Linked DNA regions of Homo sapiens: regions 2, 3, 4, 5, 6 and 7 are each linked to region 1. The links are contacts of gene promoters, found by promoter capture Hi-C in blood cells and fetal thymus (Javierre and others, 2016). All regions are on one chromosome and are shown on one strand. Each heading gives the region's core, a stretch centred on a gene start or on the middle of the fragment in contact. The rest is flanking DNA. Distances are from core to core; before and after follow the strand shown. Region 1 holds the start of LINC01548 (long intergenic non-protein coding RNA 1548). Region 2 overlaps LOC105377136 (a long non-coding RNA gene). Region 3 overlaps IFNGR2 (interferon gamma receptor 2). Region 4 has its middle 13 kb from the start of LINC01690. Region 5 has its middle 13 kb from the start of IFNGR2. Region 6 has its middle 4.4 kb from the start of LINC01690. Region 7 has its middle 23 kb from the start of LINC01690.

Region 1 (3,125 bases), core at 257-2,756:
GAGGCCAAGACCAGCCTGGGCAACACAGGGAGACCGCATCTCAACAAAAAGTTTTAAAAATTAAAAATTTTAAAAATAGTGGGAGGAGAAAGAAGCATCCCAGTGTGGTGTTATTGGCCTGGTTACCTCCATGGGCTGCTGGGACTGGATCCCCTGGAGACCCCCTGAGGAAGCGTGTGAAAGATGCCTCAGAATTGTCCACCCAAGACATGGATGGAAGACAGATGAGCTCATCAGCTCCTGCCCCTATTGGTCAAAGTTTTCCCCCAAGGAAAGCCACCTCCCTTGAGCTTCCAAGTTTACACACAAGCCAGTATAGCTAAGCAAGTCCCCGCAGGCTTGGACAGAAAGCCTGCCACAGCAGATACCCACTGCCACAGCTGTCAGGTGACAGCTTGTTGCGGTTGTCAGAGCAACGCCCAGGAGCAAAAAAGGCGAGCCAGGTCAGGCGCAGTGGCAAACTCCTGCAATCCCAGCAATTTGGGAAGCCAAGGCAGGAGGATTGTTTGAGGCCAGGAGTTCAAGACCAGCTTGGGCAAGAAAGAGACCCCTGTCTCTACAAAACATAAAAAATTAGCCAGGCATGGTGGTGCGTGCCTGTGGTCCCAGCTACTCAGGAGGCTGAGGCAGGAGGATAGCTTGAGCCCAGGAGGTCAAGGCTGCAGTGAGCCATGGTCGTGCCAGCACACCCTAGCCTGAGTGATAGAGCGAGACCCTGTCTCTAAAAACTTAAAGAAAAAAACGGTGAGCCAAGAGCATGTGAAAGGAGCGTGAAAGGAGCATGAAAGGGAGGTGGGCAGAAGAAGCTGGTTGGATAGAGGAAGTGAAAGGAAGAGGCGCATTTGTACAGACAGCCGCCCTTCTGGACCGAGTAACCACGTGGAGAGTGGTTCTCCATCCACCCACATAGGACGCACAAGGAAAAGAAGAGGTTCCCAAAGATAAGGGATTTCATGGGGAAAATACCTCATCGAATGGACTGCGACCCTCAAGGGAAGATGTTCCATAAGCTCGGCGCGAGTCAGGCAGTAGGGAGAGGTCTTGAGATCACAGGTGAAGTGAAGGCTCCCAGGAAGGGTGATTGCAGGGCGAGGGCCTCCTGACCTGGAGACAGGGCCCCAAGGAACAGTCATACGAAGAGGGCAGAGGACAAATGAAGAGGGAGTGGACAGAAAGAGAAATGGGAGGAGAGCCATGTGCCAGGAGCCAAGTGATTTAAATGCAGGTGTAGTGCCCTGGAGAGTTCCATGTGTAAGAACAAGTAAATCATTGTTGCTTACCTCTCCCTTGAAAAAAAAAAAATACCCTGCTTCTTGTCCTAAGTTCCCAGGCTCTCTTTTTGCCTACTCCCTCCCCAGTTGCTGAGTCCAGTCAACCCTCCTGCTACAGTATCCCCTATAGCGCCATTCACCTGCCCTCCTCTGCTCCCTTGGCCAACATCTAGGTTCAGAACCTCATTGTCTCTCTTCTGGTCTGTCCTGCCTCCTCCTCCCTCTGCTGCTGTCCATCCAGGTGGATTTTCCTAAAGGGAAAAGGTGCACTTGAGGGCAAATTTCTCTTGGCCATGCACTTAGGAGGGGGATTTCTGGGTAAAGGGGTAAGTTCACTGCTTTTCTAATTCTCTACTTTTTCCTTATCCTCACCCATAAATCTTACAACCCCCTTGAAGTGCAATAACTTTATTTCTAGGACCTCTCAGAGCCTTTGCCTGTGCTGTTCCCACTTGCCGGGAATGCCTTTCCCTTCATCCCCAATAGTTCAAGCCCCACCTTTTCCTGAGCCCAGCTCAGATGCCACCCCCTCATCCAGGAAGGCCTCCTTGATACCTCCCTACCAGAATTAATCTCTCCTTCTCTTGTGGTCTGAAGACTCTTGGCTTTCTCCCCTGTCCTATTTTTGCTTGTTATCACTGACATTGCTTTACACGCTTTTTCTCCTCTGCTGGGAGCAAGGGCAGTTTCTATGTCACAATGCCCCACTATGCCCATTAAGCTACAGTGCACATGGTACCCATCCCGAGACCAACATTCTTTTTACACTTCTGTGCTTCTGACCTAGGAAAGTCTTACTTTTCATAGAGTGTCATAGCTGAGTTGGAAGCTCTTTTCTTAGAGCCTCTTAAAATAATGGCGTGCCTTATAGTCAATGATCTCTTACATTCCATTAAATACAGTAGGAGATGTTCAACCAATATTTGCTAAATTGGAGGAGTTAAAGTCATTTTGAGTAGGAGAGGGAATCTAGACCCACTATTTGGATTAGTACAGATTTTAGTGCAACTCAGGGCTTCTGCAGAGCCCCTCCAGCTTTCACCTGTCCACTTAGTTGATGATGAGCACGCCTGCGAACTCTTCACACTTTCCAAACCCACCAAGGCAGCTTCTCCCGTAAGGACATGTTTCTTACCTTCAAGACCCCTGTTGCCTCCAGCAGCAATCTCAGTAATGACGTCTACTTCTGTTTCCTGCTTCCTTCTCCCTGACTCCTGCTTCCTGGAGTCCCCTCAGATAAACCTCCTGTGCCCAAGACCTTGTCAGGGTCTGCATTTACGGGAACCCAACTAAAATTCCAGGACCACCATATAAAGGTCCCTTTGTCGGGGGCTGGGCCTGCTCTGGATACGGTAGGGAAGTGGCTCCAGGGTCTGCGGCCAGCGAGGAGAGGGTCCGGCAGTCACCAGTGGGAGCTGTTTCCTCCCGTATTCCTCCCACCTGTCCCTACCTGTCCTGCTGGCGGGGTAAAGAGTGGGATTTACCTCGTGACAGCTGCCTTACAGCCCCATGAAAAGGCACTTTGGGCTGCGGTTGGGGGGAGCGCATCTCCAGGGATTGCAGGGTAGGAGGACAAGAACTCTCCCTGGCCTGGGAGTCAGGGAAATGGAGAGATCAGAGCAACACAAGTGCTGGGAACAGATGGGGCTTCCTGGGCTCCAGCGCTAATTAACCAGCTCTGCAGCTCAAGGCCTGGGCCTCATGATAGTAGTCTGAGGGCCCCTGGGGTGCAGGGTTGAGCACACAAGGCTGCACACAGGCAGAGGGAGAGGGGTGATCCCGGGAACAGCCATCCCTCCATTCCCTAATCCAGAGGCCGCTGCCCTTCTTGGGCCAGAGAGCAGCAGCTTCTAA
Region 2 (3,125 bases), core at 385-2,884, 250 kb before region 1:
ATCCTATTGGTTCTGACCTCTGGAGAACCTGGACTAATACAGTAACTGATGCAACAGGGCTGAGAAAGCGGAACCATAAGCAGCCAGTGGGGCAAGCTAAAGTCAACCCAGTTGCTCATAAACTGGTGACACCAGAGACCTATGGAAGTGGGAATCAAGGTGGATCTACAAGCAGAAGGACAGATTAAACATCCTTCAGGTCCTTTTAAGAAGTAGTTAGATCTCCAGCCTTCCTCGCTTATTCTTCGATGTCAGGCGAGAGAAATGTTCGCATTCCAAACGTTGAGATCACTGGTCATTTTCCTGATCATGTTTCCAGAATAATGGTAATAAGGACTATAGCTTCCATGGGAGAGCCGTGAAGCCTTCACTGCAGCTCTTCCAATAGTATGAGAGGAAAGAGTCATACATACTGCCATCCAAGATTCCCCAGGGAAACGGCCCAAGCAGGTCACTGTGCTGAAGCCCAGACAAGCCCCATGTAAATGCACAGAGCTTACCATCAGCTGTTAGTGACCCATTATTCAATACGGGGAGATAGTTAAAGACCATTTGGTATTTGAGAACAGCCTCTAAGGCAGAACCAGAGAAAGGTGGAAAGTAACTCAGAGCTAACATAAGTTATAGAAGCTATGAAGGGAGAAGAAATGTTTAAAAATTATTAATCATTACTATTCTAAGAATAAGCTATTGCATCCATGGAATAAGAATAAGATACTAATTTTATTTTTAATTGACAAATGATAATTGTATTTATTTTATGAGCTACAAGGTGATGTTTCAGTACATGTATACATTGTGAAGTGATCAGTTCAAGCTAATTAACATATTCATCACCTCAAATAGTTATCATTTCTTTGTGGTGAGAACATTTAAAATCTACTCTGTTTCCTATTCTTAAATATAATGTATATTAACTATAGTCACCATGCTATGCAACAGATAACCAGAACCTATTTCTCCTGTCTTTGTACCCTTTGACCAGTATCTCCCCTTTCTCCATTCTCCTTTTCTCCCCTGCCCCAGCATCTGACAATCGCCATTCTTCTCCCTGTTTTCATGAATTTGACTTTTTAAGATTCAACATATAAATAAGATCATGTGGTGTTTCTGCTCCAAACCAGTTCTCTCGAACTTAGCCAAATGTCCTCCAGGTTCATCTATGTTGTAGTAAATGACAGATGTCCCCTTCTTTTTTTTAAGGCTGAGTAGTATTGCATTTGTGTGTGCGTGTGTGTGTATAAAATATTTTTTATATCAGGCACTTTGGTTGTTTCCATATCTTGGCTATTGTGAAGAATGCTGCAGTGAACATGGAAGTGCAGACATCTCTTTAACATACTGACTTCAGTTCCTTTGGATATATACCCAGAAGTGGGGTTGCTGGATCATATGATAATTCTATTTTTAGTTTTTTCAGGAACCTCCATACTGTTTTCCATAATAACTGTACTAATTTACATTCCTGCCAGCAATATACAAGGGTTCCTTTTCTCCATATCCTCGCCAATACTTATCTTTCAACTTTTTGCTAATAGCCAGTTGAACATGTATAAGGTAATATCTCATTGTGGTTTTAATTTTCATTTCTCTAATGATTAGAGATGTTGAGCATTTTTCATATATCTTTTGCTCATTGTATGTCTTCTTTCGAGAAATGTCTATTTGTCTTTGGCCATTTTTTAAAGGGGTTATTTGTTTTCTTGTTTTTCAGTAGTTCGAGTTCTTTGTATATTTTGGATGTTAGCTCCTTATGCAATGTGTAATTTGAAGATATTTTCTCCCGATCTGTAGGTTGCCTCTTCACTCCACTAATTGTTTCCTTTGCTTTGCAGAAGTTTTTTTAGTTTGATGCAATCCATTTGTCTATTTTTGCTTTTGTTGCTTGTGTAAGATACTAATTTTAAACAAACATTCAGAGAACAAACAAAAGTGCTTGGAAACAGGAGAAGTAAAAAAGTTAAGAAAATCTCTCAGGATATAGAGTAAAAACACGGAAAATAGGAGAGAAGAAATAATGAATTTATAGAACCACACCAGAATGTCAAACATCCAAATATGGAAAGTAGATTTAGAGACAATGGAAGGCAATTTTCCAAAGAAGCAATTCATGAAAACTTCCCAGGTATCAAGTTCCTGAATCAAGTTCCCAAGGTATCAAGTTTCACAATTGTACCTAGCACTATGGATGGATGAAAATTTATTCACTGAGACAAATCATTGTGAAATTTCATCATGATGAGAATAAAGAGAAGATCCTACATGTTTCCAGAGAGAAAAAAGATAACATGCTTTATACAAAGGATCAACAATCAGAATGTCATTGGACTTCTCCAAAGCAATATGGTGGAAGACAACAGAGAAATATTTCACTATTTGAAGAAAAAATATTTCTAAAGGCAGAATTTTATACCCAGCAAAACTATTAATCAAATGTAAGGGTATAAAAAATAGGTTTTCAGACATTCCAGGCCTTATACTAAAGCTATTGGAAGTTTTTTTTTTTTAAATAAAAAAGGAGTAAAATTTTAAAAGAGGAAGATGTATGGTCCAGGAAACAGAGACTCCATCATAGAAGGGAGGTGAAGGAAATCTGCACTAATATAATAACTGCATAGTAGACTTATAGGACAACAATCCAGAAGGTTCCAGAAGAGACTGCTTCAAAAAGATGGAATTATTGTGCTTGAACAAATTGAGAGGAGGGCACAGTTTGGGGACAAATGATTAAAACAAACAAAAAAAATTGTCTTTGTTTATAAAAAACAAAATATCTACCTATATGGATTAGAGAAAGTAAGTCAGGTAAAAAAGGGAATTTTTAACCTCAGGAAAAGCATAAGTTGTTCAGAAATGGAAAAATAAATGTAGTATTTATGGTTCAGTGATTCACAGTATTTAAAGAATTATAACAATGTAAACATTGTTAAAAAGTAAATTGAAGCTGGTTGCTCCAGCTTACCCCTGTAATTTCAGTACTTTGGGAAGCCAAGGTGGAAGGATCACTTGAGGCCAGGAATTTGAGACCAGCCTGGGCAACATAGCGAGACCCTGACTATACAAAAACCTTTTTTTAATTAGCCAGGAGTTGCGGTGCACACCTGTAGTCCAGCTACTTGGGAGGC
Region 3 (3,125 bases), core at 220-2,719, 240 kb after region 1:
GGAGGGGCATCCTATAACTAAACAAATGGCCGCAGACTTGGCAATTCATCTTTCAGAAGAAGAGCCAGTGGTCAGGCTGTCAGCTGATCTCTTTGAGGTTGAGCGCATTTACCGAAAATGTGTGGCTTGAATTTCCTGCTTTGAATTTTGGAACAGCATGTTTTTCAAACCTTTCTTCCACCTTCTGGGCATTTCTTATTAATCTTTTTGGTCAAAAGCCTTATCTTGATTATGTTTTCTTTCTAAGACAAAGGGCTCCCTGTGAAGTACCTGCTTGGGAAAGGGAGGAGTTGTGGCAGTTTCTTCTAGGTCCCCGAAGGCTCCCTGTGAAGTACCTGCTTGGGGAAGGGAGAGGTTGTGGTTGTTTCTTCCAGGTCACCCCAAAGAGAGGGATTCTGATATTGGTGGTGTTTCCGGGGGAGTATATTCTTTCTCTGTTTATTGCCCCCTAACCTTTTTTTTTTTTTTTTTTTTTTTGGAGACAGAGTCTCTCTCTGTCGCCCAGACTGGAGTGCAATGGTGCGATCTCAGCTCCCTGCAACCTCTGCCTCCTGGGTTCAAGCGATTCTCCTGCCTCAGCCTCCTGAGTAGCTGGGATTACAGGCGCTCACCACCGCACCTGGCTAACTTTTATATTTTTAGTAGAGACAGAGTTTTGCCATGTTGGCCACACTGGTCTCAAACTCCTGACCTCGAGTGATCTGCCTTCCTTGGCCTCCCACAGTGCTGGGATTATAGGTGTGAGCCACTGAGCTCGGGCCGTGTTGTCCTCTAACTTTAATGTGTGTGAGAAGCAGCTGGAAAGCTTGTTTAAAATGCAGATTTCCTGGGGGCCTCAGGACCTGCACTTTAACCAGCACCCCTGTGATTGCGATGCTGGGGGTCCTTGAGAGACGACAACTCTGATGGTGCCCAGAAGTCGGCGTTCCTTGCCCTCCCCTGCAGCTTGGGCTTTGCGTACCTGATTTAGGATGTTTGTGTGTTTTTGCGTGTGTAGTGTGTGCACGTGTGCACGTATTTGCGGACATTTACCAGACACTTCCTTGGTACTAAATCTGAAGCTAACGCGTGTCACATGATCACCACGTTAATCTTCGCCACAGCCCTGTGGGTGTATCATTATTGACCCCTTATTCCTGAAAAAGAAAACTCAAGCTCAGACAGGTGAAGTGACCTGCCCCGAGCCTAATGCAGTTACTAATGGTAGAACTGGGACCCCAGTCCGGCCAGACTCCAGGGCCCAGGACCTGTTCGTAACAACTGGGACCTGCAGGTGGAAAGGCTGCCCCAGGCGCCTCTTTTCTTTTTGTGCTGCCTGTACCAGTAGGGCCATCTTTGTAGCCAAAAGTCGGGGGTGTGGGGCCATGCCCAGGGGGACCTGGTAATGCCATTTCTGCACTTTGACAAAAACTGAGTTGTATGAATGACTTAGATAATGGACATTGAAACATTTTTGTAATTATTTCCCTCTCTCTCCTCCCTTCCTCCCTCTTCTTTTTCTCTGTCCCCCTCAAGACCCTCTTTCCCAGCTGCCCGCTCCTCAGCACCCGAAGATTCGCCTGTACAACGCAGAGCAGGTCCTGAGTTGGGAGCCAGTGGCCCTGAGCAATAGCACGAGGCCTGTTGTCTACCAAGTGCAGTTTAAATAGTAAGCCGGTATTTCTGTTGGATCCTTGCTGGGAGCTGTGGGGGCATCGTGCGGAACCCTGGGGCCACATACTAGTCCCTGCCTCTGTGCAGGGTTTGTTATCAAACCCGTGGGAAACACATCGTTCTTGGAGCTTGTAAAATCTCTGAGGACAGAGGTTTCACAGCCTCCCACTCATCTGAAGGCTTAAACTACACTGGCAGTCAGGACTCCGCTGTCTAACCACACGGGTTCTTGCTTTGGTGGAAAGTTCATTCTTTCGCTGGTTTCAGGAGAAAGGTTGTAAAAATAGGCTTCCACCATGGAAGAACAGGAGGCAGCTTTTAGTCTTCATCTTCGGGCTTAAAAATCGGATTGATTTAACCTTATAGACCAAATATGGCCTGATCAGAAATTTGTTTGGTTAATTACAATGAATTCTGAGTTTCTCAACTGGTTTTCCATTTTGCATATTATCCTGGCTCTTTCATCTGTCTCTTGCCTCTTCAAGCTTTTGCAGAATTGGCCATCACTTGATTTGCAATATAAATACATATAGAAAGAGGGCAAAGTCCACATCCTTTGTTATTTTTTGTTTACGTTGTTAAGTAGGTTAATTGAAGAGTAAGGTGAAGTTATTGGCTAAGTCATTTTGTACTATTTGGTAAACCAAATGTAAAGACATGATGATGTCCAGTGCTTGTGAGATGGGACTGGTTCATATGTGTTCACCTGATGCTGTTTGCAGAATCAATTAGCATAGCCCTTTCAAAGAGGAATTCTACCAGACATTTGAAGTCATGGAAATGTCCATAGTAGTTTTCCAATGTGTGTGTGTGTGTGCACGTGTGCATGTGTGTCTGTTTGTTGTTGTTGTTTTGAAACAGAGTTTCCCTCTATCGCCCAGGCTGGAGGGCAATGGCATGATCTCAGCTCACTGCAACTTCCACCTCCTGGGTTCAAGTGATTCTCATGCCTCCTGAGTAGCTGGGACTACAGGCATGAGCTACCATGGCTGGCTAATAGGTATATTTTTAGTAGAGATGGGGTTTTGCCATGTTGGCCAGGCTGGTCTCAAATTCCTGGCCCCATCCTCAAGTGATTTGCCCGCCTGGGCCTCCCAAAGTGCTGGGATTGCAGGCATGAGCCACCGTGCCCAGCCTTCATAGTAGTTTTATCCTACACAGATAATTCAACCCCCCATCAAAAAAAAGAGAGACAAAAACTATAATCATGAAGAGATACATGGAAGTGTATATTCATATCCATCAGTAGGAAAGTGACCAATTTTAGCCTGCTAACTTACGCTTGAACACTAAACCACAGACAGCCAATAGAAAGGATAATTAGATGTCATCTGGTAGAAATTGCAACTCTGTAAACTTTGGCATGTATTTGTATTTTTTATTTCTTATTTTTGTTACTTAAAAAAATTTTTTATTCACTTTTATACTGAAAAGTTGCAAGTGGTATGTATTTATTGTCAAGAATAGAAAGG
Region 4 (3,125 bases), core at 214-2,713, 220 kb before region 1:
AGAGTCACCAAGACACACTAAGACTGACTGGCCTGAGCTTTCCCGCCCCTAAAAGCAAGGCTGATGTGCAGGAATGCAGGGAAAGGACTCAATGACAGGCTACTGTATCTGGATGACTGAAAAACAGACACCTTCACCCCTGGCCAATCTCAAGCTGGCTCAGCATTTGTTTAGGAGAGTTTAGAAGACTTTAGCAGAGCCAGAGCCCCCAGGAGGGGCCGTGACTCATGTGTCAAACATCATCAGGAGACTGGGCACCATGGCTCATGCCTGTAATCCCAGCACTTTGGGAGGCCAGGATGGTGAGATTGCTTGAGTTCAGGAGTTCAAGACCACCCAGGGCAACATGGCCAGACCCTGTCTTGACAAAAAATACAAAAATTGGCCAGGCATGGTGGTGCGTGCCTGTAATCTCAGCTACTCGGGGGCCAATGTAGGGGGATCACTTGAGCCCAGGAGGTTGAGGCTGCAGTGAGCTGTGGTTGCACCACTGCGCTCCAGCCAGGGCAACACAGCAAGACCCTGTCTTACAACACAACACAACACAACACAACAAAAAACCCACATCATCAGGGAGCAAGACAGGGGTCTCAAGGGTGGTGGCAGGTCAGAATGTCACAGGCCGCATCAGCACATTCATTGCAGGCTAAGCAGTGAGAACATGGAGACTGTGGTCATCTAACCTTCCTTCCAAAAGGGGTTTTCAAATATTGTTTGAGTGGCAGACAAAGATATGAAAAACATTGAGGCAGAGCTTCTCTGGTTGAAGTGAGAAGAGGGTGGGCAAGGGGTCTGGAGGCAGGACAGGATGGGGAGAAGGATACCTCTGGCATCCCCCTTGCGTGGCCTTTCTCTTGATCTGGTGCACCTGCAGGACCTCCATGGAACCCCAGGATTCCTCAGAACACAGTTGGAAAACCATTGAATGGACCTCTCCCTTCTCCCTCATTCACGCATCCACCAAAGGCTTTCTGAGCTCCTCTGTGGAGGAAACCTCTGAGGTGCTACAAAACACAGATACTCCCAGCACACTTTCTGACTTCCACAGAGTAGAAACTATCAGAAAAGATTAGATCATAGTTTTATTGGAGAATTGCTGGGCAATGCAACAAAATGAGTATGCCTGGGGTTATGAATACCATGAATACCTGGGGTTATGAATACCAAGAGCTATTCATGGTTATAGGTGGGTTTACCTAGTCATGGTAGCCTTACCTGAGACCTGGAGACTTAACCAGACAGTGGTAATGTCAGGCTCTGGCTCTGGGGGGAGGTTAGTGTGAGTGTGTGTGTATGTGTCTGTGTGTGTGTGCACATGTGCACGCTAATGGTAGTTCTTTCAGGCAACTGGACGTCTCTGCACATAGCAGGCGCTCAAGGGATATGGACTTTGACTGCTTCCATTGCCTACTCATGAGACCACCCTGTTCTATTACAGGAAGGTGGAATAGTCTCATGGTTTAGAACATGGACTTTGGAGCCACGCTGCTGAAGTTCACAACCAGCCTGGGTGAACTTGGGCACGTGACTGAACCTCTCTGTTCTGGTTCCCTGACCCATAAAAATGGGAGTGATGATAGCACTTGCTTCACAGAGTTGTTGAGAAGTTTGCATTAATCAACATCTCTAAAGCACTTAGGAAAGGCCTTGCTGTATGACAAGGACCATCATTTGATATGTGGTTATAAGAGGTTTTTTAATACTTGGACATTTTACTCTCAATAAATATTTGATTTTTATTTTTAGGAGGCAAGACTGGGAAAGCATTAGAAGCTAGCTGCTTGGAGGCCTAAATCCTCTAACTTCTCTCAAAATTTCTTAAATTTTTAAAATATATCAGCTGGTACCTTCAAGGCCAGATGTGAAAGTTATTTTATGATGGGAGCATCAGCTATCTGGTGTAAGAGCTGAATAGCTCTTAAGAGAAGCAAACAGGGTTGGAATCCAAGACTGACCCCTGATCTCAAGTTTTCTACTTCCCCCACCTCTTTGTCATAACTCAAGAATTAGTGGAGAAAAGAAAAGCATCCTTCATAAGCTATGATTATTAGAACAGCAAAGCCAAGAACAGTGGCCATTTAATGAGCACATACTACGTGCTCTAGGCCATGCTCAGTACTTTACGTAGGTTCTATCCTAGGCTGGGTTTCCCAGGAGCCCCAGAGACAAAGTTCATGTGCAAGTCATTTATGAAAGATAAGCTCCCAGGGAAAAGAGGTGAGTGAGTGAAGAAGCAGGACACGGAGAGGGAGGAAACCGAGCAAATGTATGATCTCAGGCAAAATCGCTCCAAGGCAACTGTCACCTGATCCTGCAGGGGACAGTGGAGTGTAAATTACCCCAGAGTTATGCCCAGTAGAAGCAAGGAAGCTGGGCTTTTCTTACTTGCATGCCATCAGTTAGAGGATCAGGCCCACCTTGGGGGAATACAAATTCCCAGGCACTTCCAGCTCCACATCTTTGAGTAAAGTGGGGCTCCAGTAGACCAAGGGAAGCCACAGGTGCTGGCTGTAGGTATGGGAAGCAAAACGAATCTCAAGAAGAAGAGTGCAAAAAAATGAGAAAAAGGGGTCCAAGGAGATCTCAAAGGAGAAGGAGTGAAGAAGCCCAGTCCTTCCACATAAGTGTGACTTGGCTCCAAAGAGAAAATCTGGAAGCCATGATCTTGGCTTCCATCAGCTATCATCAACAAATCGCAGGGGAGGCCATGTGGCCCATGGTTGTGAGTCATCCCTCGAGTAAGATTCAAATCCTCCTGCTCCATTCACTGACTGTGTGAACTTGGTGATCTCATTGACCTCATTTTCTGTATCTGTAAAATTGAGACAATAATAGAACTTGTATCAAAGTGAGTTGTTCTAGCTAGGTGTGGTGGCACACACCTTAGTCCCAGGTACTCAGGAGGCTGAGGTGGGAGGATGGCTTGAGCCCAAGTGTTCAAGGTTAAGGTGAGCCATGATCATGCCACTGCACTCCAGCCTGGGCAACAGAGCAAGATCCTGTCTCCAAACAAAAGGGAGAGTTGTTTTGAGAATTAAATAAGTTACAACATGTAAAGCTCTTGGGGCATCAGCTGGCACATAGTTGTGCTCAATAAATGACAACTGTGACAGTGTGGATGCAGT
Region 5 (3,125 bases), core at 349-2,848, 220 kb after region 1:
TTTATGCAACACATCTTACTTGTAGATAATTACCAAATTCTTGAAGGCCAGGCTGGGCGGCTCACATTTGTAGTTCTAGCTACCTGGAAGACTAAGGTGGGAGGATTGCTTGAGCTCAGGAGTTTGAGGCCAGCTTGGGCAACAAAGCAAGACCCCGGTTTTAATTTTTAAAAGAAAGAAAGAATGGAAGGAAGGAAGAAAAGTCCTACAGTAGGTTGAAGTTGAAGTGTGGCGACAACACTTTGGTCACCGATGTATCTCAAGTGTCTAGAACAATGCCTGGCATCTAAGAAGTGCTTAGTAAATATTTTTTGAGGAATAAAAAAGTAAATGAGTTTGTCTCTCTCTCTCTTTTTTTGGCGGAGGAGTGGGCAGGGTCTCACTCTATCACCCAGGCTGGAATGTGGTGATGCAATCATGGCTCACTGCAGCCTCGAACTCCTGGGCCTGGGCGATTCTCCTGCCTCAGCCTCCCAAGTAGCTGGGACTACAGGTGCACACCACCAAGCTCGGTTAATTTTTTTTTTTTTTTTTTTTTTTGAGATGGAGTTTCACTCTTGTTGCCCAGGCTGGGGTACAATGGAGCGATCCCAGCTCATGGCAACCTCTGCCCTCTGGGTTCAAGCAATTCTCCTGCCTCAGCCTCCTGAGTAGCTTGGATTACAGGCATGCACCACCACGCCTGGCTAATTTTGTATTTTTAGTAGAGATGGGGTTTCTTCATGTTGGTCAGGCTGGTCTCAAATTCCTGACCTCAGGTGATCCGCTCGCCTTGGCCTCCCAAAGCGCTGGGATTACAGGCGTGAGCCACCGTGCCTGGCCTCTAATTTTTTCTTTTTTTTTTTTTGAGACATGGGGCTTTGCCACATTATCCATGCTGGTCTTGAACTCCTGGGCTCAAGCAATCCTCCCGCCTCGGCCTCCCAAAGTGCTTGGATTACAGGTGTGAGCCACCGCACCTGGCTGAATCTCTTTTTGATACTTGGATAAGTCCAAGCTTCAGCATTAGAATATCATATCTGGTAGTGTTGCCTTTATTTGAGCCAATGTTTTTTGAGGTGAGGCTGTTTCCTAGGCAATGTGAGTGATGTTCATTTGGAAAACAGGAATGTCCCTGGGTCTTGAGTAAAGTGGGTTCTGGAGCTTCCTTTGCCTAGATGCCCCTATGCTACCTGGGGGAATGAGTTAGGAGGCATGTATGGATGTGCCCAGGTCCCTGGGTGTTGGACTGGACTGTGCTGGGAGGAATGGTGCCCTCCCCACTGCGTGAACTGGGAGGCCCAGGCAGGGTGGAGGCTCCCCCAAGCCAGGGGAGGTCATGGGACTGTGAGTTGGGGGTGCAGCCCATTGACAGATGAGAAGAAACTGCCACTCAGTGGACACCCCCCAAGTGCCTTGGGGATGTTGAAAAGCTCTGTGGATTGGTGCTTGTCTAGCACAACCAGAGGAGCCACCCCAGTTCCTGCCAGGGGCTCCCCACCTCCCACACAGAGAGTCCAGCCACCTGGGGATCTACCACTAATGCCAGAACAGAGGAAAAGGAGGGGATTTGACAGACTCTCCTACTGCAGACCCCAAGAGAATCGCCTGGGACTGGATGTAATGCAACTTGCAGTCCACTCATGGTCCTCTGCATTGCACGATCACCATGGTTCCAGATACTAGATGCTGTGTTCAGTGATTGACCGGGCATTCTCTGTCGCTGCCACTAAAACATAAGCTCCACAAGCTCAGAGTTTTTATCTGTTGTTCTCAGAACAGTGCCTAGCACAGAGTAGATGCTCAGTAAGTAAATATGTGCTAAATACATGAAAGAAGCGAGGGAGGGAAGGAGGGAGGAAGGGAGAGAAGGCACCATATTCCAGACCACCGCGTCCTTTCTGAACATGCTCCACCGCCCCTAGGCTGTCTGTGTTCTTGCCCTCATCCACAAAGGTACCCACATGAATTCGTGTTTGCTTTGCTTGGATCTGTTTTGTATGGATACACTAGAAGTCACACACTATGATGTTTGAGGTTTCCAAGATAAAAAGAAAGTTCACAGTGACAATAGTTTAAGATTCTGCAAAAGAAAGGACATTACATTAACGATGTATTTAACACTCACAAAATGTAGCATAATCTCTACATAATGGCTTACGCCCAGTGCCCATGACTGTACTGGGAAGTCACTATACCCGGGAGCTGGCCAAGGAAGGCTGAAGCTTGAGGGCTGCTGACAGTGAATGTGAGGCATTCGGCATCTCCTCTTATCACTGGTCAAGACGTGTTCAGGGCTTTGCAAAGTCAAGACTGTACCTGTAGAGAATGTCCTGAAACTATAGGCAACCTGATTTTCATACAATCTGGAAACACAGGAGAAGCAAAAGGTTCCTTCCTCTCCTGTCCTGTGTGTGGTTTCTACACACTTCTCAGAAAGGGTGAAATAATGCTGCCTTCTGGCCGTTTTGCTGGTGCTTAAAAATTGAGGAGTTTCAGGATATGAATTTTGGCCATTTCTGTATTGTAAGATTATGGAGGAATTGTTTTTTCTTCTTTATACTTTTCTGTATTTTATAGTTCCTTGACAATGAACAAGTACTACTTTTTGTTTTATTTTTTCCTGAGACGGAGTCTCGCTCTGTCACCCAGGCTGGAGTGCAGTGGCGCCATCTTGGCTCACTGCAACCTCCACCCTAGGTTCAAGTGATTCTCCTGTCTCAGCTTCCTGAGTAACTGGGATTACAGGTGTGTGCCACCATGCCCAGCTAATTTTTGTATTTTTAGTAGAGACGGGGTTTCACTGTGTTGGCCAGGCTGGTCTTGAGCTCCTGACCTCAAGTGATCTGCCCACCTCAGCCTCCCAAAGTGCTGGGACTACAGGCGTGAGCCACCACGCCTGGCCCAAGTACTACTATTATAAAGACAACAGCAACAAAAAAGTTAGAAAAATTTATGGGCTGGGTGTGGTGGCTAACGCCTGTAATCCCAGCACTTTGGGAGGCTGAAGTGGGAGGATCACGTGAAGCCAGGAGTTCGAGACCAGCCTGGGCGACATACTACGACTCCATCTTTAAAAGAATTTTTTTTTAAATTAGCTCATGTGGCGGCACGTATTCGTAGTCCCAGCTACTCACGAGGCTGAG
Region 6 (3,125 bases), core at 370-2,869, 210 kb before region 1:
GGATTAAATGAATTGCTGTATGTAAAGAGTTCAAATATTATGCTAGGCTATGTTAGGCTATGGAGACACCTGTGTTAGGCTATGGAGACACCTGTGTTAGGCTATGGAGACACTGAGATGGCTAGAAATGATCTTTTCCATCCCCCAACAAGAAGACTTCATAGTCGAGTAGGCTGCCTTTCTCGTTCTTGTACACTATCCCTCGAAATTTTTTAAAAAATCAGAAAGTGCACCGGGCACGGTGGCTCACGCTTGTAATCCCAGCATTTTGGGAGGCTAAGGTGGAAGGATCACCTGAGGTTAGGAGTTCGAGACCAGCCTGGCCAATGTGGTAAAACCCCATCTCTACTAAAAATGCAAAAATTAGCTGGGCATGGGGGTGGGCGCCTGTAATCCCAGCTACTCAGGAGGCTGAGGTAGGAGAATTGCTTGAATCTGGGAGATAGAGTTTGCAGTGAGCCGAGGTCATGCCACTGCACTCCAGCCTGGGCAACAGAGCGAGACTCCATCTCAAAAAATAAAGAAACCTAGAAAGTGCAAAGTATGTCCATAGGCAATCAAAATGATGCTTGAATTTGGGGTGGGGGAAGGGGCAAGATCTCATGTCAAACTGGATTACTATCACCTCGACAGGCACAGGACTGGCAGAGTTAAAGGAAAATAACAAGTCAACAGCCTCTTCCCCAGGGGCTCAGTAATGTCCCCAGCCTTTGGCTCTGGTGTGCTTTGTGCAAAGGGCTAAAAATAGCAGAGGCGTGCTCAGGATTAAGATGGCCTTTCAATCACAAGTCAGGGAAGTAGTGATTTTCCTTAGACAAACCCTGTTGCTACTGGTGGGGGTGGGGATGGAGGTCGGGAGACATACGACTTTCTCATACATTTGATTAAAACTTTGGCAAAGTTAAGAATCTTCATAGTCTCTAAATCTCCATTTGCACCCACCCTGACCTTTCTTAAGTATAGTTTCATTGATTTTTTAAGGCTATCTTTGAAGCTAGAATGCTGAATAACTCTAAAACTTAACAAAAAGTCCACTCTTTTGGTTGCCTGTTTGTGTGATAATACATCCTCTTAAAAAACACAGCCCATTTTAATTTGCATCCATCCACCCTTCACCTCACCATCTATAGCACCATAAATACATTCATCAAAGAAGGCAGCATAAAAAGTAGTAAGCGTGGAGAATGGTGAAGTGTCAGTTACAATTAATAGCTTTGGAAATAAAAGGGATAATATTGTGTCTCATTTACAAGTTTTGAATTTAATTTCACAACTTACCATTTGAAATAAATTAATGCCAGAATTGACCTGTTATGAAGTCTGTTTGTAAATAAAATTGGCCCAATTTAGTCAGGGGTGGGGAGTGCATCTTAGTCCCAGCTACTCTACTGAGGAGGCTGAAGTGGGAGGATGGCTTGAAGCCAGGAATTGGAGGCTGCAGTGAGCTATGATCATGCCACGGCACTCCAGCCTGGGTGACAGAGGGAGATCCTGTCTCTATAAATAAATAAATAAATAAAATCAGCTCAACTATTTATGTCAGTGTCGTAAATACAGAAACCAAATCCTTAAGATGCCCTAGAAGTGGAGGTTGGGTGGGAGGGAATATCCTCCCCAAACTTCAAATCACATCCATGCTCTGAGAGCTCCATTGGGTTGCCAAGCTCCATTCAGTCTCATTTTCCTCTTAACAATGCACGTGCGCAAAGGCTTCCTGCCTGGGAAGGCACCAGGCATCTTTTTAAAGAAGTGCAAGGATTTTAGATGAGGTCAGGAGTTGGGCATGGGAGCGAGGTGAAGGGTGAAAAAAGTTAAGCTACTCTGGTGTAAACCACCACAAACTCCCTGTTCCTGCTTTTATTCCTTCCCTAAAACGTTTTCACTTTGGGAGAAGAAAATTTTAACAAATCATTATTATTAATAAAAAGCTGTAAAGTGGGCTGCACATGGTGCTCATGCCTGTAATCCCAGCATTTTGGGAGGCCAAGGCAGGAGGATATCTTGAGCCCAGGAGTTCAAGACCAGCCTGGGCAACATAGTGAGACCTCGTCTCTACAAAAACAAACAAAATTAGCCAGGTGTCCTGGCTCGCACTACTCCAGAGGTTGAGGCGGGAGGATTGCTTGATCCCAGCAGGTCAAGGCTGCATTGAGCTGTGATCACACCACTTCACTACAGCCTGAGCAACAAAGGGAGGACTCTGTCTTCCCAAAAAAAAAAAAAAAAAAGGAGGAAAATGGCAGGGTGGGAGGGGGTGGGGAGGGGGTGAAATCACCCATAACGTCAGAGGCAGGTGAACCAGAGCAACTCCATCTTGAATAGGAGCTGGGTAAAATAAGGCTGAGACCTACTGGGCTGCATTCCCAGATGGTTAGGCATTCTAACTTACAGGATGAGATAGGAGGTCAGCACAAGATACAGGTCATAAAGATCTTGCTGATAAGACAGTTTGCAGTAAAGAAGCCGGCTAAAACCCACCAAAACCAAGATGGTGACAAGAGTGATCTCTAATTGTCCTCACTGCTACACTCCCACCAGGGCCATGACAGTTTACAAATGCCATGGCAATGTCAGGAAGTTACGCTATATGGTCTAAAAGGAGAGGCATGAATAATCCACCCCTTGTTTATCATATCATCAAGAAATAACCATAAAATGGGCAACAGCAGCCCTCCGGGCTGCTCTGTCTATGGAGTAGCCATTCTTTTATTCCTTCACTTTCCTAATAAACTTGCTTTCACTTTAGTCCATGGACTCACCCCAAATTCTTTGTTTCAAGAGATCCAAGGGCCCTCTCTTGGGGTCTGGATCGGGACCCCTTTCCTGTAACAATAATGGCACAACCCAAATACAACTACTTTAATGTTTCAGTCATCTCTTTCCATTATGTCTCTAACTGCATTTATATTTACAGTTATAATGTGCATAAAAGTTTGTGATCTACTTTTCTCCTAAACATTGCCCTAGGTTATTAGAGAGTCTTTCAACTAATTATTTTAATGGGTGCATAATATTTCATTGAGTGGGTGGATCATCATTTAACCATTTCCCTATTGATGAACAGTGGAGATTACTTCCACTTTTTCTCTTATAAATAAATATACTGATAATCATCAGTATCTTCC
Region 7 (3,125 bases), core at 267-2,766, 190 kb before region 1:
TCTACTCTGCTGTTTCTATTGGCTTGTGAAGGCTGTTAACAAGGTGTAACAAGAATAAGTGTCAAAACTCTGGCTTTGTGATCCTGGGCAAATTATTTAATTTCTGTGTGCCTGTAAATGGAAATGGAAATAATACTTACTCCAGGATATTATTGAGAAGGTTAAATGAAATAATACACATCAAGCACCCAATGGGGATTGCAGTGTAGTAAATATACAATAAATATGAGTTATTATTAAGATGATAACTTAGTATCATTAGGAACAAAATATTTTTCCTGTGACAGGCATGAATTTCAACCATTGTATTTGGTACAATAGGAAGATCTTTAATTTTTGTTTGCTTCTTTCCAGTTTCTTGGCTTGATCCTATATCATAAGGTGGCTAGATAGTGTGCTTCCGGAAACTGAAGTGTCATGGTATTATGAAGCCAGTTGAGAAGGGAGCAGAGATTTCACCAAGAAATAAGTTCTGAGCCTAGCCCATGCAGAGACTGGACTAACTTTATCGGTTGAGAAGATTTTCTGAAGTGCACAAACCCCAGATCTGTAGCCCTCGTGTGGTCCATCTCCCCTCATCCTCATGTCTGCAGTTCACTGAGAAGAATCACAATGACGACACAATAGCTGTCACTCTTGAAACACCTACCACGCAACAGGCTTGATGCGCAGAGCTTTATTTACATGATGTTTTTTGTAGCCTCACCAGTGAGTTTCTTTCTGAAGGTCCATAAGCTGCTGGAGGCTTATTCATTTTCCCATAAGGGGCTGACTCCCAGGGAGGTAAAGGATGTGCCTGGACTCACCCAGCTGGCTAAAAGGGTCCCTGTTGCTTAACTCCCAATTCGGTGCTTTTGCTACTGCCCTGTGTCACATTCTTCTTGGTCCAGCCTCCTGGATTCACTGTGAGTCTCACCAGAGGCACATCGTTTCTGCGTCTTGGCAAAGGAAAGGCCAGCAGACATGGGGAAGGCCCAGGGTCAGACCCGCCTCTGTTGGAGCACCCCAAGGATAATCCTTAGATGAGGAGAGGACAGGGGACCAAGCAACTCTCACGCTTCCCCAAGTTACAGTTTATTTTTCCATTGGCTGCATAATTATGTTTTATTGATAATACATGATTGGTGTCAATGAATCTCCACTTCTAGAAAGAACCACTGTTGAAACTTCATCCTGTATATTTTTATCAAAATACACACACATATGAGTGAGATCATAAACTTGAAAACATTTGTTTGTCTGTTTTTTCATGAGCAGGAGAGTGCGGTGTTTAAGAATATGGGCTTTGGAGTACTTTATGTTTGGAGTATTTCCCTTCTCTCCCCTTCTCTCGCCTTCCCTCCCCTTCCCTCCCCTTCCCTCCCCTCACCTCCCCTCCCCAAGGCGTGCTGAGGGACAAATGCATTAATATCTGTGATATATTTGCAACAGCATCTGGCACACGAATAGTATTAGACAAGCGAAGTTTTTTGGTCATAAATAAAACAAAATATGATTTTATATATCAATACACACAACTTTATGTATTAATACAAAAAGATCAACCTTTGCTTTCTCAAAGACTGTACTATATTCCATTCTATCATTATTTATTGAATTAATTTTCCAGTGATGGACATTTAGCTTTTTCCAACTTTTGGTATCATAAACAATGATGCAACAAACATCCTTATGTATATTATTAATAATATAGACATTTTGTCATACATAAATACATATATACATATCTTAACATGCATCCTTATGTATGTTATTGATAATATACATATTCTAATGTCTGTCTTATTGTTTCCTTTGAATAAATTCCTAAGAAATGGAGTTACTGGATTAAAAGATGATATAACTAGTCTGTGCTCCAGAGAGGTTAGATGAAATGGTATTTCAACCAAACCCTCACCAATGCATCTCATTATCGTGTTTGTCATCTTTGGCAGTCTGAGAAGAAAAATAAAGGAGGGGTCTCATTTTGATTTGCGTACAGTTGATTAAAAGCAAGACTGAGCATCTTTTCATGTGTTTTGTTCACATCCTCTGTCCATTATTCTACCGATGTCATTATTAAAATTATTATCACTTTGTCCCGTATGTTGCAAGTATTTGTGCCAGTTTGCAGTTTGTCTTTTAACCTCGTTTCTGGCTCCCTGTGCCATATAAAGCAAGGGTGGAGGGAGCAACTTGGAGAAAGCACCATTTCAGCAGAGACAGGGAAGCCAAGTCTTTTTTATATTTATTTATTAATTTTTAAATTTTTATTTATTTGTTTTTGTAGAGAAGGGGTTCTCACTATATTGCCCAGGCTGGTCTTGAACTCCTGCCCTCAAGCAATCCTCCCTCCTCAGCCTCCTAAAGTGCTGGGATTACAGGTGTCTTAATTCATGGCTGGGGTCCCCCAGGATCCCTAGCATAGGGGCATACAGGGAGGGGTGTCATTCCAAGCAAACAGACAACCAGGTTGGATCCAAAGGCCTATAAAATACCTAAAGCCATCAACTTCCTTCTGCCAACGAAAGCAAGATGAAATTTATCACCTGACTCCTACACAAGGATATAGGTCCCTCCTGTTCCCCTTCTTAATTTATCACCTGAGTCCTATACAAAGATAAAGGTCCCATCTGTTTCTCCTCTCCTTTCCTCTTCTCTCCTCTCCTCTTCCCTCCCCTCCTCTCCCCCTCCCTGGCCCTCCCCTCTCCTCCCCCTCCCCTGCCCTCTCCTCCCCTCCCCTCCCCTCCCAGCATGAAGGCAGCTGCAACAGTATGTCTGGTGCCCAGGATACAGGGTATTGGGGACAGGGTATGGAGGTAGGGGGCAGAGAAAGCAACTCTTTGGAGACTGGTTACAATAAACAAGCAAGTTACTTACTTGAGTCAGCAAATAAGCAAATATACCAAGGCTAGTGAGAGGCAGGTTGCTCACTGTCAGAGAATGGATTTACAAAGACATTAGGGAGAAGGCTGGAAAGAACCCCAAAGTGTTGAATTAGAATTAGAACTATTATTAAATAATAATTTAAAAATATATATTTGAGTATTTTGTGTGTATATGTAAAACAGACATACAACATACATACATATAGCAATTCCTATATATGTATATATAATGCACATACATACATATAGATCTAGAAA

Evidence for each region. The method cuts DNA at HindIII sites, captures the fragments that hold promoters and counts their contacts. A CHiCAGO score of 5 or more calls a contact.
Region 2: a fragment that was not itself captured here is called in contact with the fragment with the promoter of LINC01548 in region 1 in 3 of 17 cell types (M1 macrophages, M0 macrophages and M2 macrophages); the score reaches 6.9 in M1 macrophages.
Region 3: a fragment that was not itself captured here is called in contact with the fragment with the promoter of LINC01548 in region 1 in 1 of 17 cell types (naive CD4 T cells); the score reaches 5.7 in naive CD4 T cells.
Region 4: a fragment that was not itself captured here is called in contact with the fragment with the promoter of LINC01548 in region 1 in 10 of 17 cell types (M2 macrophages, M0 macrophages, M1 macrophages and 7 more); the score reaches 15.5 in M2 macrophages.
Region 5: a contact is called between a fragment that was not itself captured here and the fragment with the promoter of LINC01548 in region 1, in 1 of 17 cell types (non-activated CD4 T cells). The highest score is 5.6, in non-activated CD4 T cells.
Region 6: a fragment that was not itself captured here is called in contact with the fragment with the promoter of LINC01548 in region 1 in 10 of 17 cell types (M1 macrophages, M0 macrophages, M2 macrophages and 7 more); the score reaches 15.5 in M1 macrophages.
Region 7: a fragment that was not itself captured here is called in contact with the fragment with the promoter of LINC01548 in region 1 in 4 of 17 cell types (M0 macrophages, M2 macrophages, M1 macrophages and 1 more); the score reaches 7.0 in M0 macrophages.

What each region holds. Positions count from the first base shown.
Region 1 is chr21:33,168,730-33,171,854 of GRCh38, forward strand. It overlaps LINC01548 (long intergenic non-protein coding RNA 1548), which reads right to left and starts at 1,507. Exons shown (of 4, transcript NR_024102.1): 1 at 1,412-1,507; 2 at 967-1,104. RefSeq lists an enhancer at 719-788. The HindIII fragment of the contact is 7,514 bases long and covers 1-3,125 here.
Region 2 is chr21:32,922,918-32,926,042 of GRCh38, forward strand. All of the region lies in intron 4 of LOC105377136 (a long non-coding RNA gene), which reads left to right. Among named protein-coding and RNA genes, the nearest start is that of LINC01690, 34 kb to the right of the region's middle. The HindIII fragment of the contact is 3,884 bases long and covers 1-3,125 here.
Region 3 is chr21:33,413,373-33,416,497 of GRCh38, forward strand. IFNGR2 (interferon gamma receptor 2) reads left to right here. Exons shown (of 7, transcript NM_005534.4): 2 at 1,516-1,648. Among named protein-coding and RNA genes, the nearest start is that of IFNGR2, 12 kb to the left of the region's middle. The HindIII fragment of the contact is 1,333 bases long and covers 804-2,136 here.
Region 4 is chr21:32,944,107-32,947,231 of GRCh38, forward strand. No RefSeq gene overlaps it. Among named protein-coding and RNA genes, the nearest start is that of LINC01690, 13 kb to the right of the region's middle. The HindIII fragment of the contact is 5,112 bases long and covers 1-3,125 here.
Region 5 is chr21:33,388,436-33,391,560 of GRCh38, forward strand. No RefSeq gene overlaps it. Among named protein-coding and RNA genes, the nearest start is that of IFNGR2, 13 kb to the right of the region's middle. The HindIII fragment of the contact is 1,207 bases long and covers 996-2,202 here.
Region 6 is chr21:32,961,759-32,964,883 of GRCh38, forward strand. No RefSeq gene overlaps it. Among named protein-coding and RNA genes, the nearest start is that of LINC01690, 4.4 kb to the left of the region's middle. The HindIII fragment of the contact is 4,369 bases long and covers 1-3,125 here.
Region 7 is chr21:32,980,491-32,983,615 of GRCh38, forward strand. No RefSeq gene overlaps it. Among named protein-coding and RNA genes, the nearest start is that of LINC01690, 23 kb to the left of the region's middle. The HindIII fragment of the contact is 9,870 bases long and covers 1-3,125 here.